Regions from separate parts of the Homo sapiens genome. Here region 2 is linked to region 1. The links are contacts of gene promoters, found by promoter capture Hi-C in blood cells and fetal thymus (Javierre and others, 2016). All regions are on one chromosome and are shown on one strand. Each heading gives the region's core, a stretch centred on a gene start or on the middle of the fragment in contact. The rest is flanking DNA. Distances are from core to core; before and after follow the strand shown. Region 1 holds the start of BOD1L1 (biorientation of chromosomes in cell division 1 like 1). Region 2 overlaps FBXL5 (F-box and leucine rich repeat protein 5).

Region 1 (7,104 bases), core at 1,377-3,876:
GTGCAGCGGTGCGATCTCGGCTCACTGCAAGCTCCGCCTCCCGGGTTCCTGCCATTCTCCTGCCTCAGCCTCCCAAGTAGCTGGGACTACAGGCGCCCACCACCACGCCTGGCTAATTTTTTGTATTTTTAGTAGAGACGGGGTTTCACCGTATTAACCAGGATGGTCTCGATCTCCTGACCTCATGATCCGCCCATGTCGGCCTCCCAAAGTGCTGGGATTACAGGCGTGAGCCACCGCGCCCGGCTCATAACTAATTTTTAAAATGAATAAAACATTTATATTTTACGCTATTTTAGTCTTGTAATCTTGACTGCTTTTTTTTTTTTTTTTTTTTTTGAGACAGGGTGTCACTCTGTCACCAAGGCTGGAATGAAGTGGCACCACCATAGCTTATTGCAGTCTTAACCTCCTGGGCTCAAGCAATCCTCCCACCTCAGTTTCTCAAGGTCTGCAACATCACACCTGGTTACTTTTTTGTTTTGTTTTGTTACTGGTCTTGAACTTGTGGCTTCAAGCCACCCACCTGCCCCAGCCTCACAAAGCTCTAGGATTACAGGGGTTTGCTGCCACGCCCAGCCTTGACTGCATATAGTAATTAATCTTTTAAGATTCATATCCATGACTTTCTCCTCTCTGCTATCTTCATCAAACTCCTCAAAACACACAGGATACTCTGAATTGAAACAATGAAGTCAAATTGTTTCTGATTTAAAGTAAATCTGATTTGTCTAGTTTGACAATGAAAATGGGCTCTGTTAATTAGGTTATAAGGTAAACATTTAACATTCTTAACAAACCTTTTTTTTTCTTGTTTTTGAGAAGGGTCTCACTCTGTTGCTCAACCTGGAGTGTACTGGCCCCATCATGGCTCACTGCAGACTTGACTTCTTGGGCTCGGGTGATCCTCCCACCTAATCCTCCCAAGTAGGTAGGACTACAGGTGCACGCCACTACACCGCCTAATTTCTTTTATTTTTTTGTAGAGGTGGGGTCTTGCCATGTTGCCCAGGCTGGTCTTGAACTCTGGACTCAACCGATCCTCCCGCCTCAGCCTCCCAAAGTGCTAGGATTACAGGCGTGAGACACTGTGCCCAGTGACAAAGATTTTGAACTTGAATGAGCTAAATCTGCAGTTGCAAATTTTGACAAAAACATAATTTAACCACCTGATAACAAAAATAAATCTTATCCAAAACTATTTATGAAAATGAAAAATGTTTAGATATTCTCCAAACTTTCAGTATATCAGGTGAAAGGTACACCTCATTGAAAAAATCAGGTCTAATTCATAGTCATTTGGTATCTTGGTAAAACCTATCTGGTATATTTCCCAGAATCTGAAAGAGTGAAAAAATAAGGATTAAGTAAACAAATCCTTTGGCAAGCCAGGTGGTTTTCAGCTCTTTGCTTTCCATAAAATAGAAGGAGGGCCTAATTGAAGTCAGCTCATAGATAATCAAATCTAATTTTTTGAGGTCAAGAATTGAATGATATTGCTACAACAAAACTCTTCCATTCCTAGGCACAGTACTTGTTTATATGAACAAGGTTTCTCAGGGCACACAGCTATAAAAATTACAAATAGGAATAGAATTGATGCTCAACCCTTCTTTTCCTACTAATAAGATATATTCAGCCACAGATGTAGGAACTTTAAAAAGCAACAATATGCATTTTTCAATAAAGTTACACACACTATTTAGTAATTATGAAATTTTCTAATATTTATGTTGCTTTGACCACGTACTAATAATAATTTCAAAGATGATGCAGTCCAAAAGCAGGTGATTTGCTAGCTGTGTAATCTTACTCAACATACTTAATTTATCTGAGCCTTGGTTCCCTGATTTGCAAACTGGGGACAGTAATCAGACCTAGCTCTTAGTGTTTGTCCAAAGATTAAATGCGTTAATACATGTAAAAGCACTTAACGCCACGCTTGGTACATAATATGTGCTATAGATGTTTTACCTGCTATAATCATAGTAATCAATAGCAAATCTCCTAAAAATAAAAGCCTGTCGATTTGTCTTCACAGATAGGAAGAACGGGCTGGAGGGATCGGATCTAATCCACAGGCACACTGCCAGAAACAAGGGACCCCCACGGGGAAATGGTATGTGCAGGCAGAAGAGAGACAGAAGGAACTTGGAGCTACCTGCTGGGACAAGAATAGTGCAGGATCACAGGCTAAGAACGAAGAGGGTTGGGCGAAGTTAGAATGAGCAGATCCACGTAGGGTTCGCATTACAAATGTCTATGGATCTCTATGCACTGCTCCGGGAAACTGGAGCAAGAGAGGCAGGCCTAAAATGCCGTCGCGGATGAAGCGGGGCCAGAAACGCACTGCCCCCGCTCAGACCTAGGGCCCCAGGTGTCGCGCGGGTCGAAGCCCTAACCTCCAGGGACTCCAGACCCCTGCCGGTGACCTAAACCCCACAACCCGCGACCAGCACAGTCTTGTCGTCTCCGTCGCCACAGTCGCCGCCACTTCCGGCGCAGCTCGGCCTCGCGAGGGCGCTTGCGCCCGGCGACGGTCGAAACTGGCTCTTCGCGGCCTCCGTCGCCGGACTTTCGTCAATGTTGTCACCGTCTTTTCCTCCTTTCCCCCAGTTCCCTTTCACTTCCGGGGTTGCTCTGGATCCGCTGGTTCCGTAACAACATCCCGTTGGCTTCCCTCAGGCGGCGGGACCAGTGCAGCCGCCGCCTCCCAGGATCGTCCGCCGGTCAGGGCCCTTGCCCTCCCCGGCACAGGCCACCATGGCCACCAACCCACAGCCGCAGCCGCCTCCTCCGGCGCCGCCGCCTCCCCCGCCGCAGCCGCAGCCGCAGCCACCGCCGCCGCCGCCGGGCCCCGGGGCTGGCCCCGGCGCGGGCGGGGCGGGCGGCGCGGGTGCGGGCGCCGGGGACCCGCAGCTCGTGGCCATGATCGTGAACCACCTCAAGAGCCAGGGGCTCTTCGACCAGTTCCGCAGAGACTGCCTGGCCGACGTGGACACCAAGGTTAGGAGCGCGCCGGGTTTGGGGGTCTGCGAGGGAAGGGGAGGACCCAAGGGCGCGCTTCTTTTGCAGTGGCTTCCTCTTGGAGCTGCAGCTGTGTGCCACGGACTGTGCAAAGCACAGAGTGTTCATTCCTTAGCGTGTCCTTTGGTTCGTTTTACCGACTAGTGTTTAAGTACCTACTACGTGCCAGTCATGGTTTCGGCACAGTGATTACCCCGGTCTGATGAGCAAGACTAAGGCATTGTTCTTACAGGAACTGGTTTGGAAACAGTGGCGCTAACAGTAGCCAGTTTTGTATTCATTCTCATATCTGATGATTTTACTTTGTATCGAAGTTATGTTTGCCTTCTTTCTTGAAGGTTTCTGGGCGGTAAGGGCCTTTATCCTTTGGAGAAATGACTAAATGGTAATTGAATCAAGTTATGTGTAATATGCTTTGCTGGACATCGTGGGGGTGGGAGCGCAAAGATAAGGAGGCAAACCTGAGACAGGACTTTAGTATTGTTTCTAGCAGTGATTGCCTGATTTAGGTAACTTAGGCCATGTCACCATTCTAAGGTAAGAAGGGACAGGAAGGTGGGGTAGAGAGAACCGAGTCATTCAGTGGAGAAAAGATGCAGGAGAGGTGACAGCAGATACTGAAGTGGAGAAAGGACAGGAAAGAGAGCAGATTCAGGAGAGTAATGTAGAGAAGGGAAAGGACAGCAACAAGGTTCCCTGTCCAGAAAGAGAGGCTGGAAAGGGGAAGGGATTTTGTACCAAATGTCAGAGTGAAAGGGACATTAGCAGGAACAAGTAAACTTAGCTGGATTGGCAAAGAATTAGCCAAAGACACCAGGAAAGAGCAGTCAGTGAGATGGATGGAAAACCACAGTACAGTCTAGAATTCTGGAAGCAGAAAGCATGTTGGAAAATTAACTGGTTTGTAGGGGTTGTTTTTGTCTGCTTGTTAAATCTGGTTGGGTCCATTGGATTGGAGTTTTGATGAAATGAGGGTTTCCTTTTTTTTTTTTTTTTTTTTTTTTGAGACAGAGTCTCGCCCTGTCGCCAGGCTGGAATGCAATGGCGTGATCTCGGCTCACTGCAACCTCCGCCTCCCGGGTTCAAGCGACTCTCCTGTCTCAGCCTCCCAAGTAGCTGGGATTACAAGCGCGTGCCACCACGCCCTGCTAATTTTTGTATTTTTAGTAGACACAAGGTTTCACCGTGTTGGCCAGGATGGTCTCGATCTCCTGACCTCGTGATTCGCCCAGTAGGCATGAGCCACCGCGCCCGGTCGAGGGTTTTCTCATAGTATGTTTAGTTGTTCTGAGGAGCTTTGTATCTTTGAGAAATGCATGTTTACAACATCCACAGTTTCTTCTAAAGCTTTCAGGTGAACTGCACACAGTTCCACTATGTCTTCTGGGGAAACTCTTGAATATCCTGGTACATCTTCCTTTATAAGGACTCATACTGGGCCCACTATGTAAAACGTGGTTTTTCGGGATATTGGAGGTTTTGCACCACAGAGAATTCAATTCACTTGGGAGTGTTCATCTATTTAGGAAGTATAGTTTTTTTTACTTTTGTCTTCAGGAATATGCACTGCTACCTTTTAGAAATAATTTCTATTGCCTTTATTATTTTTGTTGTTATTTAATGGGAAAAGGTTAGACATGGCCAGGTAAATGTTATCAAATAAAGTTAGTTATTCGTATTCAACAAGTGGAATTTTTACTTTGCTGTTCTCAGAAACCCATGAATCTGTGTGTTCTCAGAAACCCATGAATCATTATGTATACAAATTAAAAATTGTAATGTACTGCTGCAATGTCTGAGGCTCAACTTTTTTATTATCCTATTCCCACAAAATGTTATTGGTATGTGTCTATAATATCCCTGCCAGACCCTTCAAAGTAAAGGATTAAAACCTTTTTTGGAGGGAAGGAGGGAAGCACAGTATCTCTGATCATCTAATGAAAGTTAGGACCTTCTCTCAAGAAAAATGCGCAAGTAACACATTAAAACGCTGTTTTTCTACTTCAGAATGGTCAACTATAGGCAATTTCATGAGAATCAATCTAATAACATATACAGTTTCAGTGAGTTCAGGAACCATGGAATAAGAACCTATTTTAATGTTCTTAGCCTCTTTTTTGAGGTCAAGAATTGAATGATATTGTTACAACAAAACTCTTCCATTCCGAGGCACAGTACTTGTTTATATGAACAAGGTTTCTCAGGGCGCATGACTATAAAAATTAGAAATAGGAATAGAATTGATGATCAACCCTTCTTCTAGTAATAAGACATATTCAGCCACAGATGCAGGAACTTTAAAAAGCAACAGTATGGCCAGGCCCGGTGGCTCATGCCTGGCCACCGTGGGCCAAAGTAGAAGATTCCCTGTTCATGCAAAGAACCATCACTTTAATGGAATCCTTGAGTTTCATCTGCCACTTGAACCTCAAAGACTGACCTGCTTTCTGTCAAAAAGTCTTAACTTGTAGCATATAGAGTTATAGTGGATTATGTCTGTCACGTGCATATTTAAGAATGAAGACATTTGATACCTGCCAGGTGCTAAGAGCAAAACTGTCATCCAGTTTAGTGTGTTTAAACCAGGATGAGAAGTACCAAAGTCTGCTGCTACACCAGAAGACCACAGAACCCTGGTCTTCTGGGAGGCCGAGGTGGGTGGATCATTAGAGGTCAGGAGTTCGAGGCCAACCTGACCAAAATGGTGAAACCCCATCTCTAGTAAAAATACAAAAAAAGTAGCCATGTATGGTGGCACATGCCTGTAGTCCCAGCTACTCGGGAGGCTGAGGCAGGAGAATTGCTTGAAGCCAGGAGACAGAGGTTGCAGTTAGCCGAGATTGTGCCAGTGCACTCCAGCCTGGGAGACAGAACAAGACTTGGTCTAAAAAACAAAAATTTTTAAAAAGCAACAATACACATTTTTCAATACAGTTGCATATACTATTTAATAATTATGAAAATTTCTAATATTTCTGTTGCTTTGAGAAATTAGAACTGAAATGACACCCTCCCAGACAAAAAAGAACACTCAGCTATGGTTGAAGTTCTGGTGCTCAGACGCTAGCTTAAACTCTCCCACAAAATCTCTCTCTCTCTCCCCCTCCCTGCCACTAACCTCTGTACCTGCTCCTGGTTATGTTACAGGTTATGTTCTGGTACTTCCTTTACCCCATGACTCTCTCCTTCTCTTCTACTCCCTTAGTTAGCAATTAGGTAGATTTTAATTTGATTTAAAAGATTTGTTCTCATTGAATACCATTTTATACTTCATTTTCTTATTTGAAAAAAAAAAAAATATATTCCCCCCTGCTTCCCAAAAAGCCAAAGTTTTCTTCATCAGAACATAACATTCATATCAATATGATGAGTGGGCCAAAGTAGAAGATTCCCTGTTCATGCAAAGAACCATCACTTTAATGGAATCCTTGAGTTTCATCTGCCACTTGAACCTCAAAGACTGACCTGCTTTCTGTCAAAAAGTCTTAACTTGTAGCATATAGAGTTATAGTGGATTATGTCTGTCACATGCATATTTAAGAATGAAGACATTTGATACCTGCCAGGTGCTAAGAGCAAAACTGTCATCCAGTTTAGTGTGTTTAAACCAGGATGAGAAGTACCAAAGTCTGCTGCTACACCAGAAGACCATAGAACCCCCCTCCAAACTGTCCAGGGTCATTGATAGTCCTTAACCAGGAGAGAGATCTGACTGTAACAGACCAAATCAGCCCTTCCCACCCAAAGAAATGGAACCATGGGCAACCCTAAGCTCCAACTACTGCAAAGACTCCTCCGTTATAGACTACCAGTTTCCAGATCTCTGGAGCAAGCTTAGTGGTTACAAAGCCATTCTGTCTCCTTTGCACTGATTAGCATCTGGAGCGTGTGAGGAGGGATGATCAAGAGGCCCTTCAGGGAGCTCGCCAGCCAGGTAAATATGGTACCTCTCTTGTCAAGTAAGAAAGTCTGATTTTTTGGACACTTTCTTAGTTATAAATGGCCCCTGGTCAATTTATTCACCCAACAAACATTCATTGAGCAACTCTTATGTACCAGTCATTTTTTTAGGTGCCA
Region 2 (7,104 bases), core at 1,919-4,418, 2.0 Mb before region 1:
CCAATAACAGAGAGCCAAATCATGAGTGAACTCCCATTCACAATTGCTACAAAGAGAATAAAATACCTAGGAATACAACTTAAAGGGATGTGAAGGACCTCTTCAAGGAGAACTACAAACCACTGCTCAACAAAATAAAAGAGGACACAAACAAATGGAAGAACATTCCATGCTCATGGATAGGAAGAATCAGTATCGTGAAAATGACCATACTGCCCAAGGTAATTTGTAGATTCAGTGCCATTGCCATCAAGCTACCAATGGCTTTCTTCACAGAATTGGAAAAAACTACGTTAAAGTTCACATGGAACCGAAAAAGAGCCCGCGTTGCCAAGACAATCCTAAGCCAAAAGAACAAAGCTGGAGGCATCATGCTACCTGACCTCAAACTATACTACAAGGCTACAGTAACCAAAACAGCATGGTACTGGTACCAAAACAGAGATATAGACCAATGGAACAGAACAGAGGCCTCAGAAATGACACCACACATCTACAACCATCTTCTTTCACAAACCTGAGAAAAACAAGAAATAGGGAAAGGATTCCCTATGTAATAAATGGTGCTGGGAAAACTGGCTAGCCATATGTAGATAGCTGAAACTGGATCCCTTCCTTACACCTTATACAAAAATTAATTCAAGATGGATTAAATATTTAAATGTTAGACCTAAAACCATAAAAACCCTAGAAGAAAACCTAGGCAATACCATTCAGGACATAGGCATGGGCAAGGACTTTGTGACTAAAACACCAAAAGCAATGGCAACAAAAGGCAATATTGACAAATGGGATCTAATTAAACTAAAGGCTTCTGCATGGCAAAAGAAACTACCATCAGGGTGAACAGGCAACCTACAGAATGAGAGAAAATTTTTGCCACCTACCCATCTGACAAAGGGCTAATATCCAGAATCTACAAAGAACTTAAACAAATGTACAAGAAAAAAAAACAACCCCATCAAAAACTGGGTGAAGGATATGAACAGACAGTTCTCAAAGGAAGACGTTTATGCAGCCAACAGACACATGAAAAAATGCTCATCATCACTGGTCATCAGAGAAATGCAAATTAAAACCACAATGAGATACCATCTCACACCAGTTAGAATGGCGATCATTAAAAAGTCAGGAAACAACAGATGCTGGAGAGGATGTGGAGAAATAGGAACACTTTTACACTGTTGGTGGGAGTGTAAATTAGTTCAGCCATTGTGGAAGACAGTGTGGCGATTCCTTAAGGATCTAGAACTAGAAATACCATTTGACCCAGCCATCCCATTACTGGGTATATACCCAAAGGATTATAAATTATGCTACTATAAAGACACATGCGCACATACGTTTATTGTGGCACTATTCACAATAGCAAAGACTTGGAACCAACCCAAATGTCCATCAATGATAGACTGGATTAAGAAAATGTGGCACATATACACCATGTAATACTATGCAGCCATAAAAAATGATGAGTTCATGTCCTTTGCAGGGACATGGATGAAGCTGGAAACCATCAGTCTTAGCAAACTGTCACAAGGACAGAAAACCAAATACCGCATGTTCTCACTCATAGTTGGGAATTGAACAAAGAGAACACTTGGACACAGGGTGGGGAACGTCACACACTAGGTCCTGTGGTGGGGGTAGGGGACTGGGGGAGGGATAGCATTAGGAGAAATACCTGATGTAAATGATGAGTTGATGGGTGCAGCAAACCAACATGGCACATATATACCTATGTAACAAACTTGCACGTTGTGCACATGTACCGTAGAACTTAAAAGTATTAAAAAAAAACAGTTGCTTATTGCCTAGGGCTCAGATGTTTTCTCTTTGTAGAGATTTTTATCGTAAATAGCTTAGTTTTTCATAATTGCAGGCAATCTGATATTATTTTGAACCTTTTACTTGTTTATTCATTGAGTAGGTGACTGGTATAGTGGTCCCGCAACTGAACTTGATACTGAACCTGATGATGAATGGGTGAAAAATAGGAAAGATGAAAGTCGTGCTTTTCATGAGTGGGATGAAGATGCTGACATTGATGAATCTGGTAAGCTTGTTTGGAATTAAAATTATTACATAGTGTTTTAATAATTGATAATTAAGTACTTATAATTATTAGGTATTAGATTTATGTATTTTGTGTTTTCTAAAGAAACTGGTGTTTCTAAGCCTACTACTTTTTAAAATTTGAAGGAATAATAATGAAATTTTAAATTAATTGAAGTACTTTAAAGAGTGCATAGGATTATTTCTCGTTTTTATATTAAAATCAAAAATCAGAAAATGGTACCTTTTTTCTTATGAAAATAATGTACGTTTATTATAGTGCTTTGTAGTTTACAATGTGATTTTAGCACCACTTCAAGTGATCAGTTGCACAGCATCTATTGAGTCATCTATGGCTTGAGGGAAATAGGATGAAACTGTTGAGTCGACTTACTCGTTTGTAGATAGTCTTAATACTTGCCTAATAAGGTTATTGTAGAATTAAGAAGTAATATACATAAATATTGTTTGTAAATGGTAAGGGATTACAAAAACTAATGTAGCCATTCATTAAACACTGTGGGAGAGTTCAAGGATGGATAAGACTTCATCGCTACTCCAAACAACTCACAAATGAGAGAGAATTTAGAAAACATAATTTTTAATTTAAAGTATATGATGGAAAAATGCTGTCATACTTGTGCAGAGAGATGCTATTTGGAAGTGTGAGGAGGAAAACAAATTCTGTCTTGGATATTCTAGATAATAATTATTAAAAGATGGTAAAATAGTAAAAAATGAACAGATGAGACATTCTTCTAGTTGGTAAAACTGAAACTATAGGAAATTTTATTTATAAAGTTACTTGCTTAAAGTAATTTGGTCTGGCGAAAGAATTAAATGTGGAAAAAAGACACGTGGAAAGTAACAGTGTAAGTATAAAGATTGTTGTATCAGCAGCTAAAGTAGTTTATTTTTATGAAACGCAGATGTGCCACATTTTGATGTAAAGATTCAAAATGTCCTATATAAGGAAAAGGTCTATTCTAGTTTGATAGATTTGGTGATGTGCTTACCTGTGGCAGGCATTGTTTTAGGTATGAAGGATCTAATGGTGAACAAAATGGAAAAAAGCAAAACAAAACTGGCGCTTGTTGAGCTTAAAATTTAGAGACAGGAGGCAAACAATAAATACAGGTAAAATATATTCCATATTAGATGGTGACAAGTGTTGTAGAGAAAAATAAGACAAGGAAAACATGCCAAGAAGAATTTAAAATTGCAGTTTTAAATTGAGCGATTAGTTAAGGTCCTTTGGGAAATTTGAGTAAAGACCTGAAGGAGATGAGATATTTGCTCAGATGTCAACTTAAGGAAGTCTCAGTTTATTCATTCTAGAAAATTAATTCATAATACCCGTGGTAAGAATGTTGAAGGTTCTCACAAATTCAGTGTATTTGTCTCCATACTTGAAGATAGCCAGAGGAAAGACTCAATTTCCTTCATATTGAAAAGGAAAAGTTAACGCTGTAAAGATTGAGCCTTTTTAGATAATATATCTGTTGATTATTAAAGACTAAACTGTCATTTACTTCAGTGCTTTTTTCGGTTTGGCTGCCTTGTCTTTTTACTTGTCCTAAGAAGTTATTGTTTTTCATAGAATGTTTAACTTTCTTAAAGATTTCACAGTTCCAGTTACCTTGATTTAATCATCACACATTGTATACAGGTTCCATAGTATCACATGTACCCCCAAAATATGCATAATTATTGTATATCAATAAAAAATTAAAAATTTAAAATTTTCACAGTAAATAGTATACATTTAGATAGTGAGGGCCACAGAAACAAAAGAATGGTTTGGGAATAAAATTATAGTAGGGCTCACTAAAGTAATTTTTATCTCCTTATATTTTATCTTCGTGTGTGTGTGTGTGCGTGTGTGTGTGTGTGTCTGTGTCTGGCTAAAGGAGGAATTTAGGATAATATCTAAACAAGGAACCATGAGTAACAAATTCTTTTAGTTGATATCCTTTTGTCTGCTATACTTAGTTTTGTTTTAAATGAGACTTCCTTAACTTATTCTGTTAAATCATTTTATGTTTAAAGACATTCAAATTGGTCTTTAGGTAAGAATAATAACAATAGGATCCTGAGAAAGGTAATACAATACAATTATTCATTCTTTTTAGTGTAGTGTGTTTTTTCCTTTTTTCGAATTGGAGTTTATGGTGTTTTCATGGTGGATGTTACAGTAGTACATTCTGTTGTAAACATCCAAGCTTTACAGAAGTTATTAAGTAAAACCAAAAGCCATGCTCATTTTTAGCTTCTTAGAAATTCTAAAGTACCTTCCTTTGCTTGATTCATTATGATCAGGCTAATTTAGTTGAGTTTCAAATCTTTTCTAGCTTTGTGCCCTTTTTAGTTATGTGGAATCAGTGATAGTACGTTTTACTATGGATCATTTTTCTTTTGATATCATATTTTCTTTTCTCTTGAAAACTTTTGCTGTTCTTTTCAGTTTTCACATTTTTTTCCAAAACCTTTTCATTGCCTAAAAATGGGATGGTTTACATAAGAAAGTATAAGGATAGCACAAAGTATGTCATATTTAACAATTTGGTGAGCGCTTGAGTAGCTTAATTATTATCAGTTTATCAAGTTCTTGGACTTTTGAATTCATTTTACAGAAGAGTCTGCGGAGGAATCAATTGCTATCAGCATTGCACAAATGGAAAAACGTTTACTCCATGGCTTAATTCATAACGTTCTACCATATGTTGGTACTTCTGTAAAAACCTTAGTATTAGCATACAGCTCTGCAGTTTCCAGCAAAATGGTATGTTTAAATTAACACTAGTTTGGGTATTAAGAAAAACAGCATGATAAGAGTTTGGTTTGCTCATTCCTGAGTTTAATTAAGGGGAAACAAACCCAAAAATGATTATTGAGTGCCTTCCTATGGGTAGGCATACACTGCTAGGTTACTTATTATTTCATTGCAGTTCTCACAACAATCTTTGTAGCATAATTATCATTACCTATATGTTACAGATGAGGAAACTGACTAGAAGAGGTTAAACATTTTATTCAGTTTCACAGATGTTAAGTGATAAAGCCCAGTTTTATGTGATTTTTTAAATAATATGTAAGGCATGGTAAGATGGGCAAATGAGATGAAATCACTGTTTTATAAAAGTGGATATTACGACTTCCTACATCAGAATCTTGAGTGTTCCTTAAAAATGTAAAAATCCTGGTTTAGTCTCATAACTGCTAAAACAGATACTTGGGCGGGTGCGGTGGCTCATGCCTGTAATCCCAGCACTTTGGGAGACCGAGGTGGGTGGATCATGAGGTCAGGAGTTCAAGACCAGCCTGGCCAATATGGTGAAACCCCATCTCTACTAAAAATGCAAAAATTAGCCAGATGTAGTGGCGTGTGCCTGTAGTCTCAGCTACTCAGGAGGCTGAGGCAGAAGAATCGCTTGAACCCGGAAGGCGGAGGTTGCAGTGAGCCAAGATACTGCCACTGCCCTCCAGCCTGGGTGACAGAGCGAGACTCTGTCTCAAAAAAAAAAAAAAAAAAAAAGAGATTCTCAGGGATTTGAGCCCAGAATATTTTATTATACTTTTTTCAAGTATTCAAGTGATTTTTTTTTATATTCACAAAAGTTTGTGAACTAGATTATGTTTACTAATAGTCATCTGTTACTTAGCTAACTGAAGTTCTGCAGATCTTTACAGTGACAATTTCTTGCCTTTTAGGTTAGGCAGATTTTAGAGCTTTGTCCTAACCTGGAGCATCTGGATCTTACCCAGACTGACATTTCAGATTCTGCATTTGACAGGTTAGTTATTTTAAACAATTTAAATATAATGAAAAACTATTTTATAAGGTTTCATTTATGTAATTGCAGTTTAATCATACTATTATTTTTTACTATCAAATCTCAGTCATGTCTGAGTATAATTTGATAGCACCCTCCAGTTCTTCACTTCTTACTCATAGGTCCCAGCTGATCCAAAAATCCCATCTGTATTATCTTGCAATCTCTGTAGTCCTATATTTTGTCTAGGCCCTTGAGCCCTGCTGTGCAACCATGTAGATTGGTATTATATGTTTTTAAGAAGTTTTAGTTTTAGTTGGGCTCTAAGTGCCATTTGGCAAAGCTCCCTCTTAGATTCTTCACAGTTACTCTGAAATAGTATAGTGTAACTTTCTTCAAGCCACCTTCTTCCCAGAGTATATCTCCTTGACCACCAATTCTCTGTATTATTGCTCACTCCCTCTTTCCCACCCAACTATTTATATCAGCACCTTTTTTCCTGCTGCAGAGGAAGAGGTATACTCTTCTCGGGCTAAAGCTAATGCTCCATCTTCCTAGAGCTTGTTTCTTATGGATCTTCCTCATTAACCGTCGGTTATTCTCTTTCTTTCATGTGTTTGCAGCCTTACTTCTGCTGACTACTTTTAGGATAATAAACTTAAGTCTTCCAATCCTTACGCCTCTCAAATCCTACCCTTCTGTTAGGTTAGGAATACTTTGACTTCCTTATTACTCTCATTGAGTTTTTGTATCCCTAGCATCAAGAATAGTACCTTAACAATAGATAATTCACTAAATACTTAAGTGATTATATTAGATGTCAAATCTTTCTTCTGGTTTTCATCTACATGCATATAGTCAAATGCTTTTGAAAAATTTAACAATATTCATTAATAGTCTTGTCTTTTAATTATAGTTGGTCTTGGCTTGGTTGCTGCCAGAGTCTTCGGCATCTTGATCTGTCTGGTTGTGAGAAAATCACAGATGTGGCCCTAGAGAAGATTTCCAGAGCTCTTGGAATTCTGACATCTCATCAAAGTGGCTTTTTGAAAACATCTACAAGCAAAATTACTTCAACTGCGTGGAAAAATAAAGACATTACCATGCAGTCCACCAAGCAGTATGCCTGTTTGCACGATTTAACTAACAAGGGCATTGGAGAAGAAATAGATAATGAACACCCCTGGACTAAGCCTGTTTCTTCTGAGAATTTCACTTCTCCTTATGTGTGGATGTTAGATGCTGAAGATTTGGCTGATATTGAAGATACTGTGGAATG

What was found. The method cuts DNA at HindIII sites, captures the fragments that hold promoters and counts their contacts. A CHiCAGO score of 5 or more calls a contact.
Region 2: a fragment that was not itself captured here is called in contact with the fragment with the promoter of BOD1L1 in region 1 in 5 of 17 cell types (non-activated CD4 T cells, naive CD8 T cells, total CD4 T cells and 2 more); the score reaches 8.0 in non-activated CD4 T cells.

The regions. Positions count from the first base shown.
Region 1 is chr4:13,623,247-13,630,350 of GRCh38, reverse strand. It overlaps BOD1L1 (biorientation of chromosomes in cell division 1 like 1), which reads left to right and starts at 2,626. Exons shown (of 26, transcript NM_148894.3): 1 at 2,626-3,006. The coding sequence starts at 2,764. It overlaps MIR5091 (microRNA 5091), which reads right to left and starts at 2,486; the gene lies at 2,394-2,486. RefSeq lists enhancers at 1,736-2,466, 2,470-2,629, 2,467-3,197 and a silencer at 2,770-2,969. The HindIII fragment of the contact is 7,220 bases long and covers 1-4,376 here.
Region 2 is chr4:15,625,615-15,632,718 of GRCh38, reverse strand. It overlaps FBXL5 (F-box and leucine rich repeat protein 5), which reads left to right. Exons shown (of 11, transcript NM_012161.4): 6 at 1,928-2,053; 7 at 4,686-4,834; 8 at 5,764-5,846; 9 at 6,742-7,104. Among named protein-coding and RNA genes, the nearest start is that of FBXL5, 26 kb to the left of the region's middle. The HindIII fragment of the contact is 2,216 bases long and covers 2,061-4,276 here.